Regions from separate parts of the Homo sapiens genome. Here all the other regions are linked to region 1. The links are contacts of gene promoters, found by promoter capture Hi-C in blood cells and fetal thymus (Javierre and others, 2016). All regions are on one chromosome and are shown on one strand. Each heading gives the region's core, a stretch centred on a gene start or on the middle of the fragment in contact. The rest is flanking DNA. Distances are from core to core; before and after follow the strand shown. Region 1 holds the start of PNPLA6 (patatin like domain 6, lysophospholipase). Region 2 overlaps LOC124904625 (a long non-coding RNA gene). Region 3 overlaps INSR (insulin receptor). Region 4 overlaps LOC124904628 (a long non-coding RNA gene).

Region 1 (7,326 bases), core at 4,474-6,973:
CTCACGTGGCTGAAGAGCTCATTGGTCAGACCCAGGTAGTTGTGCAGTGCCAGGAAGGTGACTCGCTGCAGCCGCACCATGATGATCTGCAGGGCTCGAGGGGCGTGGCCATAAGATGGGGCGGGGTAAGGGGCAGGGCCAGATGGTGGGCCGGGCTAGTTCGCAGCATAAGGGGTCGGGCGGGAACCAGGGAGAGACCCACAGTCTGGGGAAATGGGGCGAGGCAGCTAAGGGAGGAGTCCGCGGCTGCAGACATCTGGCTGCTCCAGGCCGATAACCACAGCTCCAGCGCCTGCTGGCTGCTGGGCCTCGGTCCCTTGGAGCCTGGAATGGGTGGGGGCCAGGGTGGGGTCCCTCAGGGGGTGACAGGAGGCGAAGGCCCACTGACCTGCACGACCCGCACCAAGCTCTCCGGGTACTTGGTGAAGACCGCGGAGAATGCTTCCACCGGCAGGCGCAGCACCGTGGAGTCCCGGGCCGCCCGGGCAGACACGGTCCGCTGGGGATGCTGGTGACCCTGGGGGAGGGGAGGGCGTGAAGAGAGACAAGGGCAGAGGCTGCGAGTCCCCCTCGCTACTCCCCTAATCCTTCCTGGCGCCAGTCCCGTGAGGGGCCATCGGCAGCATAACGGATGAACCAGAGATTGGGGACCCTGTGATTTCCTTCAACCTAGTCCCTTGGGTGGGACCTTGCACCCCAGCCCCCCTGCCTCAGAAACTGGTCACTCACGGTGATGACATCCAGGATGCTGAGAAGGCTGTTGACGCTGTCCCCAGGAACCACTTCCTTCACCACACACTCCTTCCCGTCCTGAGACACAGGAGACCGTGGACCCTCAGTGGCCTCGCCCTGGTGACTGGCATGTCGCCCCCTCATCCATCCCAATGATCACTGACACTTCTCATCCCTTCTCAGGGGAACCCACCAACCCTTCCAACGAGCAGGCATCTCCCATCGTTCAATACTTGTAACTACTGAGCAACTACGCAGACTACCCCAAATGTCCTCGGTCACCCGTTCCCCTGACTCCCGATGACGCATCTCCAAAGACCACCAGCTCTACAGACCAATGCCTGCTGCCCATCCCCACCACCCATCCTCCTGCAGCAGCCCCTGGGGAGGCCCACTCACAGGCCCTGGCAGACAGAGCTCCAGCAGCCCGTCCTGCACCACGTAGATGCTGGCATCTGGCTGGCCCGGCCGGAAGACGTAGTCACCCTGGCCCAGCCGCTGGAAGACCATGTGGCGGCAGAGCTCCAGGAAGAGTGGCTTCTCGAAGTGGCCCAGCACCCTGTTGGACAGGCGGTGGGCGACAGAGGCTGGAGGTCAGGGCGGCCCCACGTCTGCAGCCCTCCACCCCCACCTGCACCCCAACACTGACCGGACGTTCTTGAGCATATAAAGCACTTCAGAGGGCAGATGGGAGTTAGCCAGGTCGCCCTCGGTCAGGTCAGCTTCTAGCACTGCGGGCGGGGGCTCCTTCCGCTGCAGCGTGGGCGTCTCTTTCTGGATGCGCAGGATCCTGGTGGGAGGGGAGGGGTGCCGGGGGTGAGGGGGGCACGGAGAAGGCTCAGGCAAACCTAAGACCCCCGCATACCCCTTTCCCCAGGGCTCATGTACAGCAAACTCTGGCCCGCTGGCCAAATCAGGCTGGCCACCTTTTTTTTTTTTTTTTTTTTTTTGAGACGAAGTTTTGCTCTTGTTTCCCAGGCTGGAGTGCAATGGTGCGATCTCGGCTCACTGCAACCTCCACCTCCAGGGTTCAAGCGATTCTCCTGCCTCAGCCTCCCTAGTAGCTGGGATTACAGGCATGTGCCACCACGCCCAGCTAATTTTGCATTTTTAGTAGAGATGGGGTTTCTCCATGTTGGGCAGGCTGGTCTCGAACTCCTGACCTCAGGTGATCCGCCCGACTCGGCCTCCCAAAGGCTGGGATTAAAGGTGTGAGCCACTGTGCCCTGCCTCAGGAGTCTCGCTCTTTTACCCAGGCTGGAGTGCAGTGGCGAAATCTCGGCCCACTGCAACCTCCACCTCCCAGGCTAAAGCGATTCTCCTGCCTCGGCCTCCCAAGTAGCTGGGACTACAGGTGGGTGCCACCACGCCCAGCTAATTTTTTGTATTTTTAGTAGAGATGAGGTTTCCCCATGTTGGCCAGGCTGGTCTCAAACTCCTGAACTCAAGTGATCCTCCCGCCTCAGCCTCCCAAAGTGCTAGGATTACAGGCGTGAGCCACTGCACCCGGCTGGCCACATTTATTTTGGTAAATAAAGTTTTATTGGTACAAAGCCACATTCATGTATTTGCATATCATTATGGCTGCTCCCATGCAGCAGAGTTGAAGAGTTGCAATGGGGACCATATGTGGCCAGCAAAGCCTGAAACATTTACTATCTGGCCCTTTATGGAAAAACCCTATGACCCCAGACCTAAAGTTCTCTGAGATGGCCCCTCCACTAGGCATAGGCCCCTGAGCTGAACCCTTTAGGAAGGCAGACCCCTGACATAGCTTCCAAGATAAGGGTAGGCCCAGAAATGGTACCTGTGTTTATCATGGGGGTCCTGAAACGGTCCTTCCAGTAGTCACAGAGTAGATTCCTGAGATAGTCCCCTTAACGTGAGTATGCCTTTGACATAGCTTCCAATATATGAGAAGACCGCAGATACAGTCTCTCTGTTCTACATAAACATTCCTGAGATAGACCTTCCTCCCAGTCTCAGAGAACCTTGAGACAGCCCCTCTGACAGCCACAGAGGTCCCTGAAGTAGCCCTCATTATAAGTGGAGAATCCAGATAGCCCCTCTGCTAATCGTGGACCTGGGAGAGCCCTTCCCCACAAGTCACAGTGATTGCTGAGAAAGACCCTCCGCTGGCAAAAGATCCCTGAGATAGACCTTGGAGGATGGGACCCTGAGTTAAACTCAGTGAAATCAAGAAATTCAGATATAATTCCTTTTTTGGCTGGGCGTGGTGGCTCATGCCTGTAATACCAGCACTTTGGGAGGCCGAGGTGGGAGGATTGCTTGAGGCCAGGAGTTCAAGACTAGCCCAGGCAACACAGTGAGACTCCCATCTCTACAAAAAAATTTAAAAATTAGCCAGGCATGGTGGTGCATGCCCATGGTCTCAGCTACTTAAGAGGCTGAGGCAGGAGAGATCTCTTGAGCCCAGGAGGTAAAGGCTGCAGTGAGCTGTGATTGTGCCACTGCACTCTAGCCTCAACAACAAAGTGTGATCCTGTCTCCAAAATAATAATAATAATTATAATTGTTATGATTATTCCTTTTTTGATCAGGGAGATCTTGGGCTAACTCTTCCCTAGGTCACAGAAAGCTCAGACAGCCCTCTGACAATCATGAAGATATCAGGGTAGTCCCTTAAGAGTGTGCAAACACTACAGACAGCTCCTGTGATGTGGAGAAACCTGAGGTATAGACCCTCAACTGATCATGGGGAACTTTGAGATAGTCCTTCTACTCAACTCACAGAAAGCCCTGCCATTGGCCGGGCTCAGTCGCTCATGCCTGTAATCCCAGCACTTTAGGAGGCCGAGGCGGACGGATCACAAGGTCAAGAGATCGAGACCATCCTGGCCAACATGGTGAAACCCCGTCTCTACTAAAAATGCAAAAATTAGCTGGGCATGGTGGTATGAGCCTGTAGTCCCAGCTACTCGGGAGGCTGAGGCAGGAGAATCTTTTGAACCGAGGAGGTGGAGGTTGCAGTGAGCCGAGATCGTGCCAGTGCACTCTAGCCTAGTGACAGAGCAAGACTCCATCTCAAAAACAAACAAACAAACAAACAAAAAAGAAAGGACTGCCATTGCAGGACTATTGATCATGGAGAGCCCTGCCCTGGTGTGAAGAAACCCTTGAGGCAGACCTCCAGGTAGACTACATGACGCACAGGGATCCCAGAGCCAGCACCCAACTTGCAAAGAGAGTTGGAGAGCCTTTCTCGCAGACCTTGCTGCCAACAGGGATCTCTGATGCATCCTTCCTATATTTCTAGTGCAAGAAAATTCATAAGATAGCCCCTAGGGAACAGAAACTCCTGAGACAGCCTCCTTAGTGTGGGAAGAACTTCAAGGTCCATAACATAGGAAAGATGCCTTCTGATGTACAGAGATGCCTGAGATAACCCCCGGAGAAGAGAGGCTGGAGGCTGGAGATAGCCCCTTTAGGAGATCGTAGAAACACAATTACCTCAGTGAGGTACCCTGGAAGAAAACCACTCATGTGAAGAGACTCATGAAATAACCTACATGGAAACCCCTGATGTAGACCCCCCCACTAAGTATATGGCAAGACCTCTGAGATATTGACTTGGGAACAAATAGCTCAGATACTCCAGTGGAAGGAGAAGGTCACTGAGGTAGCCCTCAGGGAAGAGATACCCTAGAGACAGCATGTCTGGTGTGGAAGAGCTCTGAGAGGAGAGTCCAGAGATGTCTCTCTGAAACAGGAAGACTTTCTTCTTCTTCTTCTTCTTTTTTTTTTTTTTTTTTTTTTTTTTGAGACAGAGTCTCACTCTATTGCCCAGGCTGGAGTGCAGTGGCATGATCTCAGCTCACTGCAACCTCCACCTCCCAGATTCAAGTGATTCTCCTGTCTCACCCTTCTGAGTAGCTGGGATTACAGGCCCATGCCACCACGCCCAGCTAATTTTTGTATTTTTAGTACAGATGAGGTTTGCCATGTTGGCCAGGCTGGCCTCAAACTCCTGATCTCAGGTGATCTGCCCGCCTTAGCCTCCCAAAGTGCTGGGAATTACAGGCATGAGCCACAGCGCGCAGCCAATATGGGAAGACTTCCACAACACTTTGGTGTAAGCTGATTACTCAAAAGGCCCCTGAGATAACCCCTAATACCAGGTCACACCCAGCACAGCCTTACTTCTTGGCAATGTTGAGCATCTTCAGTTTCTTCCTCATGCGTGGCCGGGAGGTGGCGGAGACAGAGGTATCCACGAGGGAGGAGGTGGATTGTGACACCTGGGAGAATGAAGGCGGAGATGGGTGAATTGCTAATTCAGACCTTGGAGAAGAGGCAGACGGATCCAGGGGGTCTCCATCAAGGAAGGAGCGGTGGCGGACACTAAGAAGTGTAAATAGGGAAGGGGCGCGGCCTCTGTGTGGTCAGGGCGGACCCCAGGGGTCCCGGACTCACCTTCCGCATAATCTTCCGGCCATAGAAGAGCACTTTGTCCCTCTTCCGGAACCGATACCGGGGGCCATCCGGGGCTGGGGTTTCTGGGGATAGGTGGGGACAGGGGCACTCCGAGCTCTGTGCAGACTCCACCCTGCCAGAGCTGGGGTACCGCGAACAGACGCCAGCAAATCCCCATCTCTGCCGCCTCGGGACCCGGGCATTTGGGCCCCCCACCATACAGCCTCCCAAGAGGGGCCCCTCGGGTGCTCACTTGGCACTCGCAGCCTCCGCACCACCAGGAGGATGAGCACGGCCGTGACCACCACCGCCACTCCGGCCCCGATCATCACGCCAAGCACCTGAGGGACGAACGGCACTGGCTGCGCACCGCAAATCCGTCCCGCCGAGCCTTCCCCGGGCGCCAGGACGTCCTGGAACCCATCCCTCTCCGCCACCTTCGCCCCCGAGGAGTTCGTAGCCAGCCCGTGACTCGATGTCCCCATCTGCAGAATGGGCCAGTGCTGCTCCCTCCCCGGGGGCGCGACTCTTCCCTGAGGCCCGGCGGCCCGCAGTGCATGCCGGGAAACGTAGTTCCGCCCGAGCGGACGCAGCGCGTTATCGCCAGACCACGTAATGCGCGCTGAGCACGCCGGGAGTTGTAGTCCTCTTGGCGCCCCACGCCGGCACCTACCCGGTCTCCGCCCCACCCCTTACCATTCCAGTTTGCAGCGGAGCCTCCATCGGTTGATTCCAGCTGGACGGCCGATCTGGTAGCCCGGAGTCCTGGGAAATCAAGGAGTCGAAGGAACCCGTGCAAGTCGTCAATCTGGGCCCACCTCTCCCCTGCCTCAAGCCCTGCCCCCAGCTCAAGCCCTGCCCTCTGGGGTGGCGGGGGAAGCGTCTCCAGCTGCCAGGGGCGAGGCTAGAGGGGCGCTGCGGGACTAAGGGATGGAGCAAACCGACCTCTCGGCCCTGGCCAGGAGATGAGGCGGGTCCCCGGCTTCCTGCTCCCTTCGCCTACGCGTAGGGCCTACCAGACGCCCGCCTGTCCAACCCCACCCCGGGGCCAAAGGCCGACCTGGTACCCACTGTCAGCAGCCTGCAGGCAGGTCCCCACAGGGCACGGTCCTCTGCACCTGGTGACTTCCTCCCGGGTCACTGCCCTCTGCAGGGTTGATCAAGCCTGACCACCCCACCCCCCAGGCCGCACCCCCTACTCCGTCGAAGACTGAATGCCCCACCCCAGGAAAACGGGCCCGCAAACCGTGGGGTCCGGGAGTGGGCACCTAGATACTCGGCTCCCGACGCAAGCCTGCCCCGGGGAAGACCCAGGAGCTGGGAGGCACGGGAGTACTGCCGGGGCATCCGCGGAAGGCGTCTGATACCCACGTTTCAGAAGAGTCCTGGGATGCTTGGGGTGGCGTGGGCTTGCAAGGCGCTGCTGGTTTTTGCCGGGGATTTACTATCACGTAGTAGTGAAGTTATGGGGGCTCTATGGCACAGAGCATCACTGGGACTCCGGGACCGATGGTGGCGCCATTGCTGGGAGGCGTAACCAGAGACGCTGGGATTAGTGGGTGGGGATGCGGGGTCACTGGAAAGTTACTGAGATTCTGAGGATTACAATACTACTGCTGGGAAAACCAGGAGGTGGGTGGGCACATTCCTGGGGTGCTTATGAGAGCGGGCCTGGGGAGGGCGTCCGGGCTCCTTGGAAGATACTGAGAGATGCTGGAATATTACTGGGATTTTTCTGGGAAGCTGAGGATGTTTCTGACATCGCTAGAATATTAATGGAAATTCGGGGGCCGGGAGATAGGAATCCCGGAGACTCCGAGTCGTTACTTGGAAAATTCCTGGGTGGCCGGTCCTCTTCCACCTCAGGGCACAGCTGGCTACCGGTGTGGAAACACCTGCCGAGACGTGGGGGGTATGGGAACATCAGAAAGTCTAGAGTTAACAGGAATCGGAGGACAGATCGTGGGAAAGCGGAGGCTCGCTAACGACCCTCGAAGGGACACCCCTGCGAGGCTAACGGAAACCCAGACTCACCCAGGGGCCGCAGCCGGGGTCCACTCCGCGCCAACACCGCTAGCGTTCCGCCCGGCTCCGCAGGCACGGCCCCTTTAAATTATTCACTCCTAGTCGCACCGCAGTCCCTCCCGACCCTCCCACCCC
Region 2 (7,326 bases), core at 3,072-5,571, 440 kb after region 1:
ATGCTCTGAGAGTCAACTGGGAATGCAGCTGATAAGGGTCTGCTGGGTGCAGGAAATGTTGGAAGGTTTGCTTGCTGGGCTGTATCACCTCCTGTATTATGGGAGCTTAGAGTATTTGCCAGCTTGTCAGGACTACCATCGTCTTCCATGTTCTGAGACTGGAGTACCCAACATTCCCCTAGCAGGGGACACTTGGCTTGATAGGGCTCTATCAATCTATATTGTGAGGGTAGAGATACTCATATTGCAAGGGGAGGCTGCAGGAGTTGCCTGCTGGGGCTAAGATTATTCCTTGTGTTTGGGATAAAGGAGGGGTCACCGCAGGGGCAGTCAACTCATGTTGGGGGAGACGGGATTTGCATTCTGGGCTCCCCTCCTCGTTTATGTTAAGGGTGTTGCTTGCTGATGCTTCTATTAACTCTTACTTTGGGATAATGGGAAGAGAGATAGTTTTCTGGGGTATGAGTTTGTCACTTATGTTGTAGAATCTGGGGGGCTGCCTGTTGAGATTCTGACCATTGCTTGTTTTGGGTGTCATTGCTGGGGATACTTATTTATAGTCTTGGGAAGACAAGGGATGCATGTTGCAGCGGTAGTGGGTAAGAATGGTGGCATTTGCTGGAGTTCTTTTTTTTTTTTTTTTTTTTTTTGAGACAGAATCTTGCTCTGTCTCCCAGGCTTGAGCGCAGTGGTGTGATCTTGGCTCACTGCAAACTCTGCCTCCCGGGTTCAAGAGATTCTCCTGCCTCAGTCTCCTGAGTAGCTAGGACTACAGGCACGTGTCACCACGCCCGGCTAATTTTTGTATTTTTAGTAGAGACGGTTTCACCATATTGGTCAGGCTGGTCTCGAACTCCTGATCTCGTGATCCACCCGCCTTGGCCTCCCAAAGTGCTGGGATTACAGGCGTGAGCCACCATACCCAGCCTGGAGTTCCTTTCTTGAGTGTGTAGAGGATTGAGGGTTGATTGGTTTTTGGAGTTTCCATCATTAATGTAGGAGCGATACGGGGAATCACTTGGCGAAGCTTTCATTGTCTCTGATGTTGGAGGTAACTGGAGGGCCAGTGCCTGGGGCTTCCATTTTTTTCTAGTGTTGAAGGGTCAAGAGCATTTATCAGATAGAGGCCTTACTGTGTATTGTTTGGGGAGAGGATGGAGGGATTATTGGATGGGGTTCCACTTATCTCTAGTTGGGGAGGGTCATATTCTGGGTCTCCGCTTGCCTGTACTGTTGGTATAGACTGGGTAGGCCATTGGGCTTGGAGTCCCCATTCTTTAGTGTTGAGGGGCATCTGAAGGGGTCATTTCAGGGACTTCTGTTATAGTTTTGGACGTGACTGAGGGGTGCTTGCTGGAGTAGTTTCGCGATGACGGAGGTCTTCATGTTTGGACTCCATCTTTTGTGTTTGTAAGTGATTGAGGGGTGGAGATCTGGCATCCTGTTGCCTCTTGTTTTGAGGGTGACTGGTGGTTACCTGCTAGGGCTTCTGTCAGCTCTACTGCTGTATGCAGATTGTGAGAATCACTTGCTGGGGCTTCCATAATCTCTAGTCTTAGGGGGACTGGGAAATGGCTTGCCATGCTTTCTATTATCTCTAGTTTTAAGGGACCAGTTCAATGTGATTTAAAACTCTTTTTATTTGAAAAAAAAAAAAAATTAGGGCTGGGCACGTTGGCTCACGCCTATAATCCTAACACTTTTGGGAGGCCAAGGCAGATGGATCACTTGAGGTCAGGAGTTTGAGACCAGCCTGGTCACCATGGCGAAACCCCATCTCTACTAAAAATACAAAAATTAGCTGGGCGTGGTGGTGCACACCTGTAGTTGCAGCTACTTGGAGGCTGAGGCAAGAGAATTGCTTGAACCCAGGAGGCGGAAGTTGCAGTGAGGTGAGTGTGGGCAACAGAGTGAGACTCCGTCTGAAAAAAAAAAAAAGATTTAGACGTATAAAAGTGTTAAAACTATACAGGCTTGATTTATACAGTCAATATTTATTTGTATTTGCTCACATTTTATCTTTCCTGATTATCCTTATATATTTCTGGAATTGCTTCCACATGGAATAATTTTCCTCCAGCCCCAAAACTTTCCTTCTTTCTTTCCTTCTCCTTCCTTCCTTCCTTCCTTCCCTCCCTCCCTCCTTCCTTCTTTTTTTTTTTTGAGACAGAGTCTCGCTCCATCGCCCAGGCTGGAAAGCAACGGTGCGATCTCAGCTCACTGCAACCTCCACCTCCTGGGTTCAAGCAATTCTCCTGCCTCAGCCTCCCAAGTAGCTGGGATTATAGGCGACCGCCACTACGCCCAGCTAATTTTTTTTTTTTTTTGTAGTTTTAGCAGAGATGGGGTTTTGCCATGTTGGCCAGCCTTGTCTCGAACTCCTGACCTCAGGTGATCCACCTGCCTCAGCCTCCCAAAATGCTGGGATTACAGGTGTGAGCCACCGTGTCTGGCCCAAAACTTTCTTTAGTGTTTCTTGAAGTGCAGTTCTGCTGGTGATGAACTATGTTGTTGCTGAAACACCAGGGGTTCAATCTAGGTCCTGCTGCTCACCACTGCACAGAAAGCCTATCGCTGAGACAATGAGTATTGCCAAGGAAGAAGGCTTTAATCAGCTGCTGCAGCTGAGGAGGTGGGAGAACAATCTCAAATCCATCTCCCTGACCAACTAAAATTTGAGGTTTATATAGCAGGGAAGAAATGTTACCATGTGTGGGAATACAGGAATTAGGGAAGGGTAAGGAAGAGGAGTTGGTCAACAGGAAGCAGGTGGTCAGTTAGGCAATCATGATGGGTGATGGGTCTGATGTCTCACTGTACAAATGCAGTATTCTGGTGCGTTTCAGCTCCTAGATACTATCTGGGAGGCCTGATGGTTGGTTTCCTGAGAAAGGAACTCAGATAAGATAAATGTAACTTTCTTAAGTTTTAAGATTGGGAAGATCAATTTGTTTGTTTATTCAAGGAAACCATAAACATCAGCAATATGGGAAAATTGGGCCAGTTTCACTTTCAGGTATTTAAAAGAAAAATCTATTGGATTTTGGATATCAATTCTTGTCCTTCACTTGGCGCTAAGTTCATGTCCCTACATAAGATACAAAGGGGGCCGGGCGCGGTGGCTCCCGCCTGTAATCCTAGCACTTTGGGAGGCCGAGGTGGGCGGATCACAAGGTCAAGAATTCAAGACCAGCCTGGCCAACATAGTGAAACCCCATCTCTACTAAAAATACAAAAATTAGCCGGGTGTGCTGGCGTGTGCCTGTAGTCCCAGCTACTCGGGAGGCTGAAGCAGGAGAGTCGCTTGAATCCAGGAGGCGGAGGTTGTAGTGAGCAGAGATGGCACCATTGCACTCCAGCCTGTGTGACAGAGTGAGACTCCATCTCAAAAAAAAAAAAAAAAAAAAAGAGATACAAAGGAAGCTACTGTTGGGATAATGTCATTTGGTCGTATTCCCATCAGAAACCTTAAGCTTTGGCCACAACCAGGACTCTTCATATAAAATGGTGATGGTGGTGGTGGGGAACCAGGGAAAAAGCGGAAAAAATTAAAGATTTTTTAAAAAACCCAAACCCAAAGCATAGCTGTCTTCTATTCCTGCTTTGGGACCTGGTCTTCAGGACTGAATTTAATTCTTCCACATCCATTCCACATTCTGCTTTCTCTCTGCCAGTCCCTTATCTGAATGGATTTTTATTTTTATTTTTTTTTGGGATGGAGTCTCACTCTGTCGCCCAGGCTGGAGTGCAGCGGCGCGATCTCGGCTCACTGAAAGCTCTGCCTCCCGGGTTCACGCCATTCTCCTGCCTCAGCCTCCTGAGTAGCTGGGACTACAGGCGCCCGCCACCACGCCCGGCTAATTTTTTGTATTTTTAGTACAGACAGGGTTTCACTGTGTTAGCCAGGATGGTCTCGATCTCCTGAGACCGGCCCTGAATGGATTCTTTACCCTGATAGAGTGATCTTATCTCGGATCAGGTTTTCTGGGAACAGATTTTGTGCTGGCAATTTTTTGTTTATTGGATAAAACTCCTGGGAACAACATCTTTAAAGGCATGCGAGAAGCGGAGGGGACAGATGAGGCTGACATGTAACTTGTCAACTGAGGCTGCCGTCGATCCCACAGGGAGTTCTGGTGCTGGGGTTGCCCTTCAGGGGTGTCCTACATTGAAACAAAGGCACTGGACCTTTGTACCCCCTACATCAACCAGTCACTGGAAGTAGGCAACCCCTGGAGAGAGAGCATAATCTTGGGTTGGGCACTTTCCTCTGGGCCTTGGGGAGTTCCCAGAGAGGACAGCAGCATCACCATCATCAGGCAACACCTCCAGCAGCTAGGGGAGTGCCTTAGTCTTTTCTTTTTTCTAGATGGAGTCTTGCTTTGTCACCAGGCTGGCGTGCAGTGGCAAGATCTTGGCTCACTGCAACCTCCGCCTCCCAGGTTCAAGCGATTCTCCAGCCTCAGCCTCCTGAGTAGCTGGGACTACAGGCACACGCCACCACGCCCAGCTAATTTTTTTTTTTTTTTTTGAGATGGAGTCTTTGTCGCCCAGGCTGGAGTGCAGTGGCGCCATCTCGGCTCACTGCAAGCTCCGCCTTCCAGGTTCACGCCACTCTCCTGCCTCAGCCTCTCGAGTAGCTGGGACTACAGGTGCCCGCCACCATGCCTGGCTAATTTTTTGTATTTTTAGTAGAGATGGGGTTTCACCGTGTTAGCCAGGATGGTCTCTATCTCCTGACCTCGTGATCCGCCGGCCTTGGCCTCCCAAAGTGCTGGGATTACAGGTACGCCCAGCTAATTTTTGTAGTTTTAGTAGAGACGGGGTTGCACCATGTTGGCCAGGATGGTCTTGATCTCTTGACCTCGTGATCCACCTGCCTCAGCCTCCCAAAGTGTTGGGATTACAGGCGTGAGTCACCACGCCTGGCCTTAGTGCCTTAGTCTTAAAGGAAGAATCTGGGAAATATGCCACTGAAACCATGCCTAAAGTGTTAAAGCAAAGACTAGCAGAAATTCTTGATGTGTTGGAAGCTGGTTCCTTCTGGTGGGTTCGTGGTCTCGCTGACTTCAAGAAAGAAGCCACAGACCTTCACTCTTAAAGATGGCACAGACCCAAAGAGTGAGCGGTAGCAAGGATTACTGTGAAGAGCAAAAGAACAAAGCTTCCACAGCTTGGAAGGGGACCCGAGCTGGTTGCCGCTGCTGGCTGGAGTGGCCAGCGTTTATTCCCTTATTGACCCCTCCCATGTTCTGTTTCTGTCCTATCAGAGTGCCCTTTTTTCAATCCTCCCTGCAATTGGCTGCTTTCAGGATCTTGCTGATTGGTGTGTTTTACAGACTGTTGATTGGTGCATTTTACAATCTTCTTGCTAGCTACAGAGCGCTCACTGGTGCGGTTTACAATCCTAGCTACAGAGTGCTGATTGGTGTGTTTTACAATCCTCTTGTAAAACAGGAAAGTTCTCCAAGTCCCCACTCGACCCAGGAAGTCCAGCTGGCTTCACCTCTCATTGAGTTTGCAGGATGGCAGGTAAAAAAAGAAATAACTTGCTAAAACGCTGAAACTGCCTCCACTTGTAACAAAACTGCCTAAAATCTGTGAGAACCCACATGGCCAAATGGAGTTTGTGCAGAATGAGCTTGCTGATGTCACAGTGCAAATTTCCACGTGTTTCATACAAACTCCCTTGAGTTAGTATGACTTTGCACATGGAACCCATGGGGAGGCATGAAGAGATCATTGCACCTGCCTGAGGACTTAACAGACCTTTCCTCCCACCAATCGCCTGCTAATCCCAGAATCCACGCCCTACACCTTTTCTAAGAAAATTATTGCCTTAAAGTCAGCATAAGACAAATTTGAGCTGGACTCCTGTCTCCTTGTTAACTTGCAATACAAACCTTTCCTTTTCTCAAAAATCTGATGTCATAGTATTGGCTTCTAGCACATTGGGTGAAGAGCTCTTTTGCTGGGTAGTGCCACCACTGTACCTACTGTGGTCCACCATGTGTGCCACTCAGATGCCCTGCATTCATTTTGTTTGTTTTGTTTTTGAGACAGAGTCTCCCTCTGTTGCCCAGGCTGGAGTGCAGTGGTACCATCTTGGCTCACTGCAACCTCTGCCTCCTGAGTTCAAGTGATTCTCCTGCCTCAGCCTCTGGAGTAGCTGGGACTATAGGCATGTGCCACCATACTCAGCTATTTTTTGTATTTTTAGTAGAAATGAGGTTTCACCATGTTGGCTAAGCTGGTCTCGAACTCCTAACCTCAAGTGATCTGCCCGCCTCTGCCTCCCAAAGTGTTGGGATTACAGGCGTGAGCCACTGTGCCCGGCCCCAGGATTCTTAAAGTAAGTGCCCTCAGGATCCAGGTTGGTCCCGTTGCCTGGAGAAACTGACAAGAGGAAGATCAGTGGGACAAACTGTAGACAGCCCTTTCCACCTGAACAAGTCTCAGAGATGCAATTGATGCTTATCACACTCCTTTACTTGCACCTTCCAGATTCCCTTTACCCTTGACTAGGGTGAAAATTCTAGATTTCCTTCTCACCTAGATCCTGCTGGTCTAGGTGGCTTACCTGGAGAGCTGCTCCAGATCCTTATGCCTACGGGGTCTTCACCATGCCCTTCTCAGGACATAGCTGGTGAAATTTTTTTATCTTTTTCTTTTTTGGAGACAGAGTCTCGCTCTGTTGCCCAGGCTGGAGTGCAGTGGCGCGATCTCGGCTCACTGCAAGCTCCGCCTCCTGGGTTCACGCCATTCTCCTGCGTCAGCCTCCCAAGTAGCTGGGACTACAGGCGCCTGCCAACGCGCCCAGTTAATTTTTTTGTATTTTTTGTAGAGACAGGGTTTCACCATGTTAGCCAGGCTGGTCTCGATCTCCTGACCTTGTGATGTGCCCACCTCGGCCTCCCAAAGTGCTGGGATTACAAGCGTGACCCACCACGCCTGGCCAAAATTTTTTTATCTTTAAAATTGGGGAAAGAATAGTAAGAGACATCCCAATGGATTCCGTGAATGCCAAATGTTTTCCTCCCTGCACTCATCATGTAACAGCAGCCTCAGATTCTATGGATGATAGCATTAATTACCTAAGTCAGTATGGTGACTTCTTTCCTTGTGTGCTGGTCTCATAGAAGTCACAGTTTAACATCCGATGAGACTCTTACTGTGTCTCTTGGTGGAAGTGTTTCCCTCTGGGAACCAAGTCCTTTAGGTTACTTCTCTTTTTTCTTTTTTTTTAGATGAAGTCTTACTCTGTCACCCAGGCTAGAGTGCAGTGGCATGATCTCGGCTCACTGCAATCTCCGCCTCCCGGGTTCA
Region 3 (7,326 bases), core at 3,466-5,965, 390 kb after region 1:
GAAAAGAAAAATTCTGCCAGACTTGGAGAAGTGGCTGAGTCAGTTGTGATGTCCACATGTAGTCACGTTTGACATCCCAGGGCCACCTCAGCAGGCCGTCTCTGGGGAGAATTTTCTCTGATTTCTTCCCCTTCCCTTGCTGGACCCCTGCACCTGCTGGGGAAGATGTAGCTCACTCCGTCTAGCAAGTGATGGGAGCGAGTGGTCCAGGGTCAAAGCCAGGGTGCCCTTACTCGGACACATGTGGCCTCCAAGTGTCAGAGCCCAGTGGTCTGTCTAATGAAGTTCCCTCTGTCCTCAAAGGCGTTGGTTTTGTTTCCACAGAAAAACCTCTTCAGGCACTGGTGCCGAGGACCCTAGGTATGACTCACCTGTGCGACCCCTGGTGCCTGCTCCGCGCAGGGCCGGCGGCGTGCCAGGCAGATGCCTCGGAGAACCCAGGGGTTTCTGTGGCTTTTTGCATGCGGCGGGCAGCTGTGCTGGAGAGCAGATGCTTCACCAATTCAGAAATCCAATGCCTTCACTCTGAAATGAAATCTGGGCATGAATGTGGGGAGAAACCTTCACTAACACACTCTTGCTAAAACATAGAATCATGGGAGTGCTTCCTGGGTACCCCCTCCCTGCCTTCTGTTTGCAGCCACTGTTTGCTCACTAAACATCTCTGCACCTCCCGCGTGCATTTGCAGAGGTGGGTGGGGGTCCCCGGAGTCTGAGCTCCCCGCGGCTGGGTGCCCCGACCCAGCAGCTCCTACACCATGAATGGAGGTTGATCTGGAAACAGAATATTTTCATGAAAGGGCGACAGGGTATGAACAAAAGAACACCGTGTCGCTCACTGAATTCCACGGAGGAGAGTCAGGGATCTCTTCCTTCCTTCCTTCCTTCCTTCCTTCCTTCCTTCCTTCCTTCCTTCCTTCTTTCTTTTTTTCCTTCTTTCTTTCTTTCCTTCTTTCTTTTCTTTTCTTTATTCCCTCCCTCTCTCCCTCCGTCCGTCCCTCCCTCCCTTCCTTCTTTCCTTCTTCTTTTTTTTTTGGATGGAATTTCACTCTTGTTGCCCAGGCTAGAGTGCAGTGGTGCGATCTCGGCTCTCCACAACCTCCACCTCCCGGGTTCAAGCAATTCTCCTGCCTCAGCCTCCTGAGTAGCTGGGATTACAGGCATGCGCCACCACGCCCGGCTAATTTTTGTACTTTTAGTAGAGACAGGGTTTCTCCATGTTGGTCAGGCTGGTCTCGATCTCCCGACCTCAGGCGATCCGCCCGCCTCGGCCTCCCAAAGTGCTGGAATTACAGGCGTGAGCCACCGCCCCTGGCCAGGGACGTTTCTTTTCAACTTGAGTCTTAAGAGAATGAAGCAGTATGGTCCTGGGAGAGAGAAAAAGCTTGGAGAACTTGGGAGAAAGGCAAGGAGATGTTTACCTGTCGTGGCTTTTGGGAGGAACAGGAGGTGAGACTAAAGAGGCAAGTTGGGACCACTTGGAGAGATTTTCTTCCTTTAGCAGAGTGTTTATTTATTTATTTTTTCCCAGGCACCTGTGTGGCCTGATCTGCCCTCTAGTGGCCATTTGCAATACTAACTGTAGCCAAGAAGGGTCTAAAAATGTACGGGCTTGGTCCAAAGCAGATCTCAATCTCAGTCCTGCTATTAATAATATTCGGGTGGCTCACGCCTGTAATCCCAGCACTTTGGGAGGCCGAGGCGGGCGGATCATGAGATCAGAAGATCGAGACCATCCTGGCTAACACGGTGAAACCCCGTCACTACTAAAAATACAAGAAATTAGCTGGGCGTGGTGACGCAGCTACCCCAGGCGGGGCAATCACTTGAGGCCAGGAGTTCGAGACCAGCCTGACCAAGATGGTGAAACCCCGTTACTACAAGAAACATAAAAATTAGCCGGGCGTGGTGACACACGCCTGTAGTCCCAGCTACTCGGGAGGCTGAGGCAGGAGAATGGCGTGAACCTGGGACGCGGAGCTTGCAGTGAGCCAAGATCGTGCCACTGCACTCCAGCCTGGGCCACAGAGCGAGACTCCGTCTCAAAAAAAATAAAAATAAAATAATATTTGGGGCCACAGCTGGACTTGGTAGCTCACGCCTGTAATCCCAACACTTTGAGAGGCCCAGGCGGGGCAATCACTTGAGGCCAGGAGTTCGAGACCAGCCTGACCAAGATGGTGAAACCCCGTTACTACAAGAAATATAAAAATTAGCCGGGCATGGTGACACACGCCTGTAGTCCCAGCTACTTGGGAGGCCGAGGCAGGAGAATCACTTGATTTCTGGAGGCGGAGGTTGCGGTGAGCCGAGATCTCGCCACTGCATTCCAGCCTGGGTGACAGAGCGAGACTCTGTCTCAAAAAAAAAAAAAAAAAAGAATAAATACATAATACTAATAATAATAATAAATAATATTTGGGGTCAGATTATTCTAGGGCACTGTCCAACAACACTGAGAAGCATCCCTGGCTTCCACTCATCTGATGCCAGTAGTGTGTCTTCCCCCTAAAGTAGTAATAACCAAAAATATCTTCAGACATTGCTAAATATCCCCCTGGGTGATGGGGTCAGAAGGACCCTTGGTTGAGATGACCAGGTTAGTGTGGGATTGCTGGATAATAAAATGCTGCCTAGGCCAGGTGCTGTGGCTCATGCCTGATGCCTGTAATCCCAGCACTTTGGGAGGCCCAGGCAGGCAGATCACCTGAGGTCAAGAGTTTGAAACCAGCCTGGGCAACATGGCGAAACCCCGTCTCTACTAAAAATACAAAAATTAGCCGGGCATGATGATGCACGCCTGTAATCCCAGCTACTTGGGAGGCTGAGGCAGGAGAATCGCTTGAACCCAGAAATTGGAAGTTACAGTGAGCCAAGATCACACCACTGCACTCCAGCCTGGGCAACAGAGCAAGACTCTGTCTCAAAAAAAAAAATCAGTTGATGCTTTGTCTTTTGCCACTTCATGGTCTTTTTGGTTATAATCTTTTTGGTATATAAACTCATTTGGCCTGTTTGATGAGCCCATTTTACATCTCTGGTTGTTGAGATACCAATTTCTCAGTAGTTACTCATGAAGCACCAACGTCTTGGTTATTTTCACGAGACCCATTTGTGCCTGTATAGAAATTATCTGAATCTTGCTAATACGGACATATCTTTGGCTTGATAAGTGGTGGAGCTGTTTTCTTTTCCATTCTACAATGTTGTTAGTCTTTTAATACAAAAAGACCATAAAGAGAATCTTAAGAAATGCCCCCAAAGTAGGATTTGTTTTCTGACCACACATTTTCTGATGACGCTGCAATAGAAACTAAAAGTTAATTTCAAAAGATTAAACAGAAAACTTCACTTCTTGGTGGTTAAAAGTTAAACACTTACAGGCTGGGCGCAGTGACTCACACCTGTAATCGCAGCACTTTGGGAGGCCCAGGCAGGCGGATCACCTGAGGTCAGGAGTTTGAGACCAGCCTGGCCAATATGGTGAAACCCCTTCTCTACTAAAAATACAAAAATTAGCCAGATGTGGTAACGTGCGCCTGTAGTCCCAGCTACTCAGGAGACTGAGGCAGAAGAATCACTTGAACCTGGGAGGTGGAGGTTGCAGTGAGCCGAGATCACGCCACTGCCCTCCAGCCTGGGCAACAGAGCGAGACTCTGTCTAAAAAAAAAAAAAGTTAAAAAGTTAAACACTTACATATCTATCGGGCCAAAGCAGAAATGGAAACTTCCATTGAAGTCCTTTTGGAAAATAATGAAAATGTGAATATCACATACCTTAACTTGTAGAATATTGTCAAAGCTTGGCTTTGATGTTACTTAGCAGACTTAAATGGATTGATAAATTAAGAAATAAACTTTAAACTATAAAACTATAAATGTGTTAGGAAGGGAAAAGCAATAACAGCTAAGCCTATGGTAAACATAATCAAAGGGAAAACACAAACCAGAAGGAAAGAAGATGACATAAAACTAGCGTCTGAAGAAAATTTTAATGTGTTAAGTTCTTTGGACAATGGTGCACTTGCTAAATTTGAAAGTTTCAGTAAGGTGGGAAAATTTAACTTGTCTAAATGGATTCAAAAAGAAGCAGAAAAATTAAGTGGTTATGAACCTTGGAAAAAGATATGTGTCAAATAATTTCCTCAAAAAAGTCCCTTGGCCCAGAGAGTTTTATAGACACGTTCTTTCAAATTGTGAGAGAGCAACTATTTCCTATAATAGAAAAACTATTTTAGGGCACAGAAATCTATAAAAGTTATCCCAGTTCATTTTATGAAATGAACATAACACCCTTAAAGAACTTGACAAAGAGGTTGAGCATGGTGGCTCATGCCTGTAATCCCAGTACTTTGGGAGGCTGAGGTGGGGGGCGGATCACAAGGTCAAGAGATTGAGAACATTCTGGTCAACATGGTGAAACACTGTCTCTACTAACAATACAAAAATTAGCCAGACATGGTGGCACACGCCTGTAATCCCAGCTACTTGGGAGGCTGAGCCAGGAGAATCGCTTGAACCTGGGAGGCAGAGGTTGCAGTGAACCGAGGTTGCGCCATTGCACACTCCAGCCTGGCAACAGAGCAAAACTCTGTCTCAAAAAAAAAAAAAAAAAAAAAAGAACTTGACAAAGATACTGCACTGAACAAAAGCCACAGGCCAAGCTAATATGTGATGTTAGATTCAAATGTCCCAAATAAAACACTGCACTGGCAATATTGTTTATCTCCAAAATGCAAGGATGGTTTAAGATCAGAAGATTTGATAACATCATCTAGTTCATCAAGAGGTGCAATAAGGAAGATCATATCTGTTTCAATAACCTTAATTTAAAATTCCTAACTTAGAGAAAGGGGAGGAAAAAAAGAGGCTTCATAAAACTCATAATAGAATATTTCTTCTACAAGATAAATATTACCTAGGTTAAACCAACAGCCAAGCTAACATCATTCTTAAAATTATTCTTAGCAGAGTTAGGAACAAAACAAGGAAGCCCCATCTCATCATTACTAATTAACATTTCTCTGGGCATCCAGCCAATGTAATAAGACAAGAAACAGAAATCAGAGTTGTAAAGAATGGAATGTGGGAAATAAAGTCATTGCTATTTGCAGAGCGTCTAGCTCAAGGGTAGGCAAACTATGGCCCATGGGCTAGCTGCCTGTTTTTGTAAATGAACTCTTATTGGAATGCAACCCCACCCACTTGTTTACACATCATGTAGGGCTGCTTTAAGCTACAATGACAGAGTAGTTGTGACAGAGGTCATTTGGCTTGCAAAACCCAAAATATTTATTATCTAGCCCTTTACGGGAAAATTTTGTTGACCCCTCTTCTAGTGTGTCATTGAAAACCCAGGAAAGCCAATTATGAAACTTTTTAAATGAGTTAGAGTTTGGGAAAGTAGGTACATAGAAATAAGCAAAAAGACTGTAGATACACAAGCAATAATTAGAATATAAAATAAGGGAAAAGATCCCTTTCAAAATTGCCGTAAAACCTTAGCACAACTCATAATAACCCCATCTAGAATGACTTATAAAGGAACACGTTTTAAAGTGTTACTGATATATTAAATTGTACAAATAAACATGAAAGCCTGTTTCAAATCATTTAAAGAAAGCTTACTGGCAAATGGAAAAGAGTAAGTTGTATAGCACGATACATAAAAGGTTAATATCCTTAATGAATAAACAACACAGGAGTAAGGAAAACACAAGAAATTCATGGAAAAACAGACAAAAGACAAGGAGGGGACAATTCTTTGGAGAATCACAGAGAACCAATAAAGGAAAAATGAAGTCACACTCAGTAATATAAAGATCCGCAAATAACGTAGTCGAGTGATAGCATATTTTTAATCTCTTGGGTTAAAGATCTAGACAAACAAACATAGAAAGAAAAAAAAAAACTATTAAGGCTTAGGGGTTGCTGAGATTGTCCTGGAATGCAGTCTCATGGCCTGCTGGTGCAACCACAAGTCAATATAGAGTTTCTGGACAACCATTTAGCTGTAGGTATTAAGAAGCTTAAAGAGTTTCTTATCTCCCTGAACCTAGTAATATTTTCCTCTAGGAATCTACTTTGGGGAAGTAATAAGACAATCAGACAATGATCAAAGGAATATTTATAACAGCAAAAAAAAAAAAAAAGAGCCATGTGCGGTGGCTCATGCCTGTAATCCTGGCACTTTGGGAGGCTGAGGTGGGCAGATCACCTGAGGTCAGGAGTTTGAGACCAGCCTGGCCAACATGGCGAAACTCCGTCTCTACTAAAAATACAAAAATTAGCTGGGCATGGTGGCGGACTCCTGTAATCCCAGCTACTCAGGAGGCTGAGGCAGGAGAATCGCATGAACTCAGGAGGCGGAGGTTGCAGTGAGCCAAGATCACGCCGTCGCACTCCAGCCTGGGCGACAAGAGTGAAACTCTGTCTCAAAATAAATAAATAAATAAGGAGGATGGTTAAGTGAGTGACGACTCACGTAGCAAATGGAATATTTTACAGTCATTCATCGTTTTCCAAGTTTTCTGCAGGGAACACATGCTACTTTTGTAGATGATGGAGGAAAACCCTAATATTAAAAAGGAAAAGTCCCAAAATTCTCTCCTAAAATGTTATGTTGAAAGGAAAATATTTAGTAAATGCTTCCAATATAATAAGTAGACAAAGTTTACTTATAAAACAGGCTTGATCCTCATCATGTTCACACATAATATTTACAGGGAAAAAATTGTCCAAAGGAAGCAGTGGGCTGTGGATTTATGAGTGATTTATATTTTCTTTTCTTTTTTTTTTTTTTGAGACAGAGTCTCACTCTGTCGCCCAGGCTGGAGTGCAGTGACACGATCTCAGCTCACTGCAACCTCCGCCTCCCGGGTTCAAGCAATTCTCTTGCCTCAGCCTCCTGAGTAGCTGGGATTAAAGCTGTGCACCATCAGGCTCGGCTAATTTTTGTATTTTTAGTAGAGACGGGGTTTCCCCATGTTGGCCAGACTGGTCTTGAACTCCTAACCTCAGGTTATCTGCCCGCCTTGGCCTCCCAAAGTACTGGGATTATAGGCATGAGCCACCTCGCCCAGCCTACATTTTCTTCTTTATCCTTTTTTCTTTGTATTTTAAAATTTGTTAGCTATCAACCTTTGTTGTTTAATATGTCTTCTTAAGGGATGGGGAGAAGTGTGCCAATTGCATAGATGTTTCTTGGAGTTAATCTTCCTGACCTGAGTGATGTGATTCCTTTTCTAAGAATTGCAGCTTAATCACTCAAATTATACAGGTGCCCTAAGCAGCAATAAGAAGGAAAAGATGTATTTTTTCCTATTT
Region 4 (7,326 bases), core at 1,488-3,987, 270 kb before region 1:
CAATTCAGTGACATTTAGTACATTTACAATGTTGTGCAACCATCCCTACTACCTAGTTCCAGAACATTCTCATCTCCCCAAAAGGACACCCCATAGTTATTTATTTATTTATTTATTTATTTATTTATTTATTTATTTATTTTGAGACGGAGTCTCACTCTGTCGCCCAGGCTGGAGGGCAGTGGTGCAATCTCGGCTCACTGCAAGCTCCGCCTCCCGGGTTCATGCCATTCTCCTGCCTCAGCCTCCTGAGTAGCTGGGACTACAGGTGCCTGCCACCATGCCTGGCTAATTTTTTGTATTTTTGGTAGAGACGGGGTTTCACCGTGTTAGCCAGGAAGGTCTTGATCTCCTGACCTCATGATCCACCCGCCTCGGCCTCCCAAAGTGCTGGGATTACAGGCATGAGCCACTGCGCCCGGCCTATTTATTTATTTTTGTTTTTGTTGAGAGAGGGTCTTCTTCTGTCACCCAGGGTGACTGCAGTGGCACAATCATGGTTGAGTGCAGCCTCAGCCTCCTGGGCTCAAGCAATCTTCCCACCTCTGCCTCCTGAGTAGCTGGGGACGTGGGCATGTGCCACCGTGGTCAGCTAATTTTCAAATGTTTTGTAGAGATGGGGCCTTGCTATGTTGCCTAGGCTGGTCTCAGACTCCTGGCCTCAAGTAATCTTCCTCCCCTGGCCTCCCAAGGTACTGGGATTACAGACGTGAGCCACCATGCCCAGCCCCCCATACTTACTAAGCAGTCACTCCACATTCCTGCCTTCCTGCAGCCTTGGAAAACCCTAATCTGTTTTGGCCTCCCAAAGTGCTGGGATTACAGACGTGAGCCACTGTGCCCGGCTAACAAATTGTTTTCTGCCCATGCATTTATGTATTGTATGTGACGCATTTGTGCTAGAATAGCAGAGTTGCAGCAGAGAGCCCTCGAGGCCCAAAAATATTTACTATTTGGCCCTTTTCAAATGTTTGCCAACCTTTGGTCTAGAAGGTTACATTCTGGAGCAAACAGATCATAGACAGATAAAGAAAGGCAGATGCTAAAATCAGCCGGGCGTGGTGGCAGGCACCTGTAGCCCCAGCTACTCGGGAGGCTGAGGCAGGAGAATGGTGTGAACCCGGGAGGTGGAGGTTGCAGTGAGCCGAGATCGCGCTACTGCACTCCACTGGGCGATAGAGCAAGACTCCGTCTCAAAAAAAAAAAAAAAAAAAAAGAAAGAAAGAAAAGCAGATCCTGAATCTGGTCCCCTCCACTCACCCGCGCTTCCCAGTTATGAAAGGCAACACAATCTCCACATCTTCTTTCTTGGGTTTTGGGTTGGTTTGAGTTGGGGCCACGAAGGGAAGTGAAAATGATGTGGTCCTCATTGCTTTCACAGTTTCAAACCCAACTCCAGTGTTTATCAGCTGATGGGCTGTGGGCAGGTGACTCATCTCTGAGCCACTATGCTCATAGGTAAAATGAGAATGAGGGCGGCTGTGTTACCGGATTCTTTGAGGTCATATCCAAAAAACACATAGCACAAAATAAATGCTCATGAGATGCAGAGGCCAGGTGTGGTGGCTTATGCCTGTGATCCCAGCACTTTGTTTTTCTGTTTGTTTTGTTTTGAGACAGAGTCTTGCTCTGTCACCCAGGCTGGGTGCAGTGGCAAGATCTCGGCTCACTGCAAACTCCACCTCCCAGGTTCAAGCGATTCTGCTGCCTCAGGCTCCCAAGTAGCTGGGATTACGGGCTCCCGCCACCAAGCCCGGCTAATTTTTGTATTTTTAGTAGAGATGGGATTTTGCCATGTTGGCCAGGCTGGTCTCGAACTCCTGACCTCGGGTGATCCACCTGCCTCGGCCTCCCAATGTGCTGGGATTACAGGCGTGAGCCGCTGCACCCGGCCACTGTAATCCCAGCACGTTGGGAGGCCAAGGTGGGAGGATCGCTTGAGTCCAGGAGTTCCAGACCAGCCCAGGAAACATAGTGAGACCCTGTCTTTACAGACAAAAAATTAGCTGGGTGTGGTGCCGTGAGCCTGTGGTCCCAGCTGCTCAGGAGCCTGAGGCAGGAGAATCCCTCAAGCCCAGCAGGTTGAGGCTGCAGTGAGCTGAGACTGCCAAAGATTGCGCCACTGCACTCCAGCCCAGGTGACAAAGCGAGACTCGGTCTCAAGAAAAAAAAAAAAGAAAAGATACAAAAAAAAACAAGAATAAACCCTATTGAATTGGAGGTACTGAGGTGAATTCATGGTTTTCAAAATATAAAGATAAATATAGAAATAAGTTTGTGTGTGTGTGTGTGTGTGTGTGTGTGTGTGTGTGTTCCCATTTATCTACTAAGAGGACCTGGGAGCCACATACCCCAGTAACAATGGGCACACTTAACACCCAGATCATTTCTAACTGCCAATCTCCACCTAGCCCAGGGCTTTTTGGAAAAATGAGAGCAGCCTGGGCAACATAGCAAGACCCATTTCTACAAAAAATTTAAAAATTAGCCAGGCGTGGTGGCGTGCTCCTGTAGTCCTAGTTACTTGGGAGGCTGAGGCAGGGTTGGGGGGGACAAAAGCCTAGAACATCTAGTTAGGCCAGGAAGGAAGAAAAAACGATCAGCAAAAAACCAATAGGAATATGTCAAAAGGACCCAGAAGCCAGAGAGAAAAGCTTTCACTGGCCAAATTAAAGATAATTTAAGCATCGAAGGGGAAAAAAAAGAACGTCAGCAAAATGGCAGAGTAAAATTTGCCTTTCTACAAAAGCAATGAAAAAAACTGGCAAAATTTGACAGAATCAACATTTTCACAACTCTGGAAATTAACCAAAAGCTTACAGTAATTTGCAGAGCATTTAATTAAAAAAAAAAACACATAAAAAAACAGCAAGCTCTGTAGAATTTTAACTCACTCTAGTCTTATTCCTGGCTCTCCAGCTCAGAGGGTAGCCTTGAAAAATAACAGCCCACAATCTTGATACCATACGGAAAAGAACAGAGGTGCGGCTCCTTCAAAACCTCATTCAGGATCATTCAAGAAGAGGTGTGTGTGTGTGTGTGTGTGTGTGTGTGTGTGTGTGTGTGTGTGTGTGTTTGAGACAGAGTCTCGCTCTGTCGCCCAGGCTGGAGTGCAGTGGCGTGATCTCGGCTCACTGCAACCTCCTTCTCCTGGGTTCAAGCGATTCTCCTGCCTCAGCCTCCGGAGTAGCTGCGATTACAGGTGCCCGCCACCATGCCTGACTCATTTTTGTGTTTTCAGCAGGGACAGGGTTTCACCATGTTGACCAGGCTAGTCTCAAACTGCTTACCTCAAGTGATCCACCCACCTCGGCCTCCCAAAGTGCCGGGATTACAAGCGTGAGCCGCCGCACCCAGCCAAGAAGAGTCATTTATTGACCTATTTATTGGTACTCTGGAAGACCCTGCTCTGAAAGACCTGACCTCACTTGAACTTGCCGGATGCTAAACATTTCTCCCCAGGGGCTATTTGTTAAATGTTTTAACATTGCAGCTGCCTGTGGCAATACTTAACAGTTGGGGAAATAATAGCCTAACTAAAAATCTTAGAAGGAAAAGCGCCAGGCGCGGTGGTTCACGCCTGTAATCCCAGCACTTTGGGAGGTCGAGGCGGGAGGATCACTTGAGGTCAGGAGATCGAGACCATCCTGGCTAACACGGTGAAACCCCGTCTCTACTGAAAATACAAAAAATTAGCCGGGTGTGGTGGCGGGCGCCTGTAGTCCAAGCCAGGAGAATGGTGTGAACCCAGGAGGCGGAGCTGGCAGTGAGCCGAGATCGCGCCACTGCACTCCAGCCTGAGCCACAGAGCGAGACTCCGTCTCAAAAAAAAAAAAAAAAAAAATCTTAGAAGGAAAAATGAAGACATTAGATGTTCGGAGGGACTTTTGAAAAATTCTGACATATTTCTGGGGATATGGAAGGCCACATGCTTAGGAAAGACCTGAGACAGCCCTAAGCTCACACCGCTGGCCGACTTCGAGGCTCTGTGTAAGCAGGAAGTGAGAGCTAAAGCACAGTTGTAAATTTCCTGGGTGAATGTTGAAGGTGTGTCCCTAATAAGTACACAGAGCTCCCTGGCAAAGACTGGCAGACTTCCGATTCCAGACATTCAAGGAAATCTCTGTCCAACCACTAGCTAACCATGAAGCTAACTGAGCAAAGACTTCAGTAGCCATGACAGAGAATATAGACTTTACAGAAGTAGTTTAGAAAAGTCATTTAACAGGCCTGGCACAGTGGCTCATGCCTGTAATCCCAGCACTTTGGGAGGCTGAGACAGGTGGATCACCTGAGGTCAGGAGTTCGAAACCAGCCTGACCAACATGGTGAAACCCTGTCTCTACTAAAAATACAAAAATTAGCCAGGTGTGGTGGGGTGTGCCTGTAATCCCAGCTACTCAAGAGGCTGAGGCAGGAGAATCGCTTGAACCCAGGAGGCAGAGGTTGCAGTAAGCCGAGATCACGCCATTGCACTCCAGCCTGGGCGACAGAGCGAGACTCCACCTCAAAAAAAACTATTTTTATAGTGACAGGGTCTCACTATGTTGCCCAGGCTGAGCTTGAGCCCCTGGGCTCAAGTGATCCACTGACTTTAGCTTTCCAAAGTGTTGGGATTACAGGCATGAGCCATCACACTCGGCCAGCTGTTGGCATTTAGAATAGTCTTTCTAGCAAGACCAATATTCCAGGACCATAAAAGCTGACTGAATATCTGTTCTAGGATGAGGGATAGGCTCCAGGGATTCCTTTCTTCCCTGGAAGGTTGACTCTTGTGTGTTGGGGAGTGGGGCAGGGGGGTGGGCTGGGGCCAAGGGCCAGGGAGGACAATTTGGTCCTGACTCTCTTATTTGGGGTCTTTATGGATCTGCTCTAACACCAGCCAGTTAGAGCCAGGAGACTGCAAGCTGGGACCTGTGCATTGATCAGGTATGCCTGAGGCCAATGGTGAAGGGAGGATGGACCCTTTGAATCCAGTTATTTGGCTCTCTGGGCTCCTGCCCTGAGGTTCCCTCCAGCCCTGCTGCCCCAGCATCTAAGCCTGGAGTACCAGGGGCTCGAGGGCATGCGTGAGCCATGGACAGGATCCTGGGGAAGTTCCAGCTTAACCTGGGGGCCTCTTCCTTCTGCCCCAGCCACAGCCGGTACTTACTCAGCTCCACCCCCAGGAAGAGACTCCTGGGCTTCTCCTGTCCACCTGTGCTTCCATTGTACATTTGTCACTACAACCTGGAAGAGGCTCTGCCGTTGAGGTTGTCAGTCAGCCTGGAAGTCAATCCTGTCAGTTCGTCTCTGTTGCTGTTCAGTGAGTCAGAGATCTCCACTTGATCATCAGTAAGTTAGACTAGATCTGTCTGTGGATCTTCCAAATTGCCACTTAACCCAGCTCAGCAAGCAGTTAGGCCACCAGGTACGCATTTCGACTTCCATCCCCCACCTGGGAGTCTTTCTCAGCTAGTTACTCTTTGAGCTAGGATGCATGATGGCCTGCAAAGATATCCAAGTCCTGGCCAGGCATGGTGGCTCACATGTGTAATCCCAGCAGTTTGGGAGGCTGAGGCGGGCGGATCACCTGAGGTCGGGAGTTCGAGACCGGCCTGACCAAGATGGTGAAACTCTGTCTCTACTAAAAATACAAAGTTAGCCAGGTGTGGTGGTGCATGTCTGTAATCCCAGCTACTCAGGAGGCTGAGACAGGAGAATCACTTGAACCTGGGAGGTGGAGGTTGCAGTGAGTTGAGATCATGCCATTGCACTCCAACCTGGGCAACAAGAGTGAAACTCCTTCTCAAAAAAAAAAAAAAAAAAGATATCCAAGTCCTAATCCCTGGATCCTATGAATGTCACCTTATATGGCAAAAAGAGACTTTGCAGATATGATTGCGATTTTAAGATAGAAAGATATTGTGTGCTAAATAATCTGTCTAGTCACTACCTCTGGTTCCTGGCAGGGGGCGTCTAAACTCTTGGAATTTTCCAAGTAATAGAAGTGTCTTAATGGCCAACAAACATATGGAAAAATGCTCAACATCACTAATGATCAGGGAGATGCAAATCAAAACCACAATGTGATACCACCTTACTCCTGCAAGAATGGCCATAATCAAAGACTCAAAAAATAATAGATGTTGGTGTGGATGTGGCAAACAGGGAACACTTTTACACTGCTGGTGGGAATGTAAACTAGTACAACCACTATGGAAAACAGCGTGGAGATTCCTTAAAGAACTAAAAGTAAAACTACCATTTGAGCCAGCAATCCCACTACTGGGTATCTATCCAGAGGAAAAGAAGTCATGATACAAAAAAGATACTTGTTCACACATGTTTATAGCAGCACAATTCGCAAGTGCAAAAACGTGGAACAAACCTAAATTTCCATCAGTCAACGAATGGGTGAAGAAACTGTGGCATACATATAAAATGGAATACTACTCAGCCATGAAACGGAATGAATTAATGGGATTTGCAGCAACCTGGATGGGACTGGAGACCATTATTCTAAGTGAAGGAACTCAGGAATGGAAAACCAAACATTGTATACTCTCACTCATAAGTGGGAGCTAAGCTATGAGGATGCAAAGGCATAAGAATGACACAGTGGATTTTGGGGGCTCAAGGGGAAAGGGTGGAAAGCTGACGGATAGAATACTACAAATTAGGTGCAGTGTATACTGCTTGGGAGATGGGTGCACCAAACTCTCATGAATCACCACTAAGGAATTTAATCATGTAACCAAATACATGTTCCCCCAAACCTATGGAAATAAAAAAAAAAAAGAAGCGTCTTTATTATTCATGGGGGCCCTGGACCATAACTGAGCTTATACCAAGGAGGTGACTCAGGATGGGGGCTGGTCATGCCAGAAACACCAACCACCAAGGTTGGGATTTTTAGCCACCTGACCTCCAGGAAGGGGAAGGGGCTGAAGGTGGGGTTCAATCATGTAGATAATGGTTGGATCAACCCCACCTACTTTTTAATCCTGCCTATTTTTAAATACAAAACTAGCCGGGCATGGTGACACACACCTATAATCCCAGCTACCAGGGAGGCTGAGGCACGAGAATCCCTTGAACCTGGGAGGTGGAGGATGCAGTGAGCTGAGATTGTGCCACTGCACTCCAGCCTGGGTGACAGAGTGAGACTCCATCTAAAAAACAAATAAATGAGGCCAGGCGCGGTGGCTCACACCTGTAATCCCAGCACTTTGGGAGGCTGAGGCGGGTGGATCACGAGGTCAGGAGATCAAGACCATCCTGGCTAACATGGTGAAACCCCGTCTCTACTAAAAATACAAAAAATTAGCTGGGCGTGCTGGTGGG

Evidence for each region. Contacts are between HindIII fragments. The CHiCAGO score rates a contact against its expected background, and 5 or more counts as called.
Region 2: a contact is called between a fragment that was not itself captured here and the fragment with the promoter of PNPLA6 in region 1, in 1 of 17 cell types (naive CD8 T cells). The highest score is 5.4, in naive CD8 T cells.
Region 3: a contact is called between a fragment that was not itself captured here and the fragment with the promoter of PNPLA6 in region 1, in 1 of 17 cell types (M1 macrophages). The highest score is 5.9, in M1 macrophages.
Region 4: a contact is called between a fragment that was not itself captured here and the fragment with the promoter of PNPLA6 in region 1, in 1 of 17 cell types (M1 macrophages). The highest score is 5.2, in M1 macrophages.

Annotation. Positions count from the first base shown.
Region 1 is chr19:7,534,114-7,541,439 of GRCh38, reverse strand. It overlaps PNPLA6 (patatin like domain 6, lysophospholipase), which reads right to left and starts at 5,723. Exons shown (of 32, transcript NM_001166114.2): 1 at 5,420-5,723; 2 at 5,167-5,249; 3 at 4,894-4,991; 4 at 1,382-1,522; 5 at 1,132-1,291; 6 at 730-810; 7 at 389-517; 8 at 6-86. The coding sequence starts at 5,651. RefSeq lists an enhancer at 5,649-5,888. The HindIII fragment of the contact is 24,808 bases long and covers 1-7,326 here.
Region 2 is chr19:7,090,501-7,097,826 of GRCh38, reverse strand. LOC124904625 (a long non-coding RNA gene) reads left to right here. Exons shown (of 3, transcript XR_007067110.1): 2 at 5,376-5,532. Among named protein-coding and RNA genes, the nearest start is that of ZNF557, 24 kb to the right of the region's middle. The HindIII fragment of the contact is 1,691 bases long and covers 3,476-5,166 here.
Region 3 is chr19:7,143,531-7,150,856 of GRCh38, reverse strand. INSR (insulin receptor) reads left to right here. Exons shown (of 22, transcript NM_000208.4): 11 at 325-360. Among named protein-coding and RNA genes, the nearest start is that of ZNF557, 77 kb to the right of the region's middle. The HindIII fragment of the contact is 1,821 bases long and covers 3,805-5,625 here.
Region 4 is chr19:7,801,820-7,809,145 of GRCh38, reverse strand. The region is part of intron 1 of LOC124904628 (a long non-coding RNA gene); the gene reads right to left. Among named protein-coding and RNA genes, the nearest start is that of EVI5L, 25 kb to the left of the region's middle. The HindIII fragment of the contact is 161 bases long and covers 2,657-2,817 here.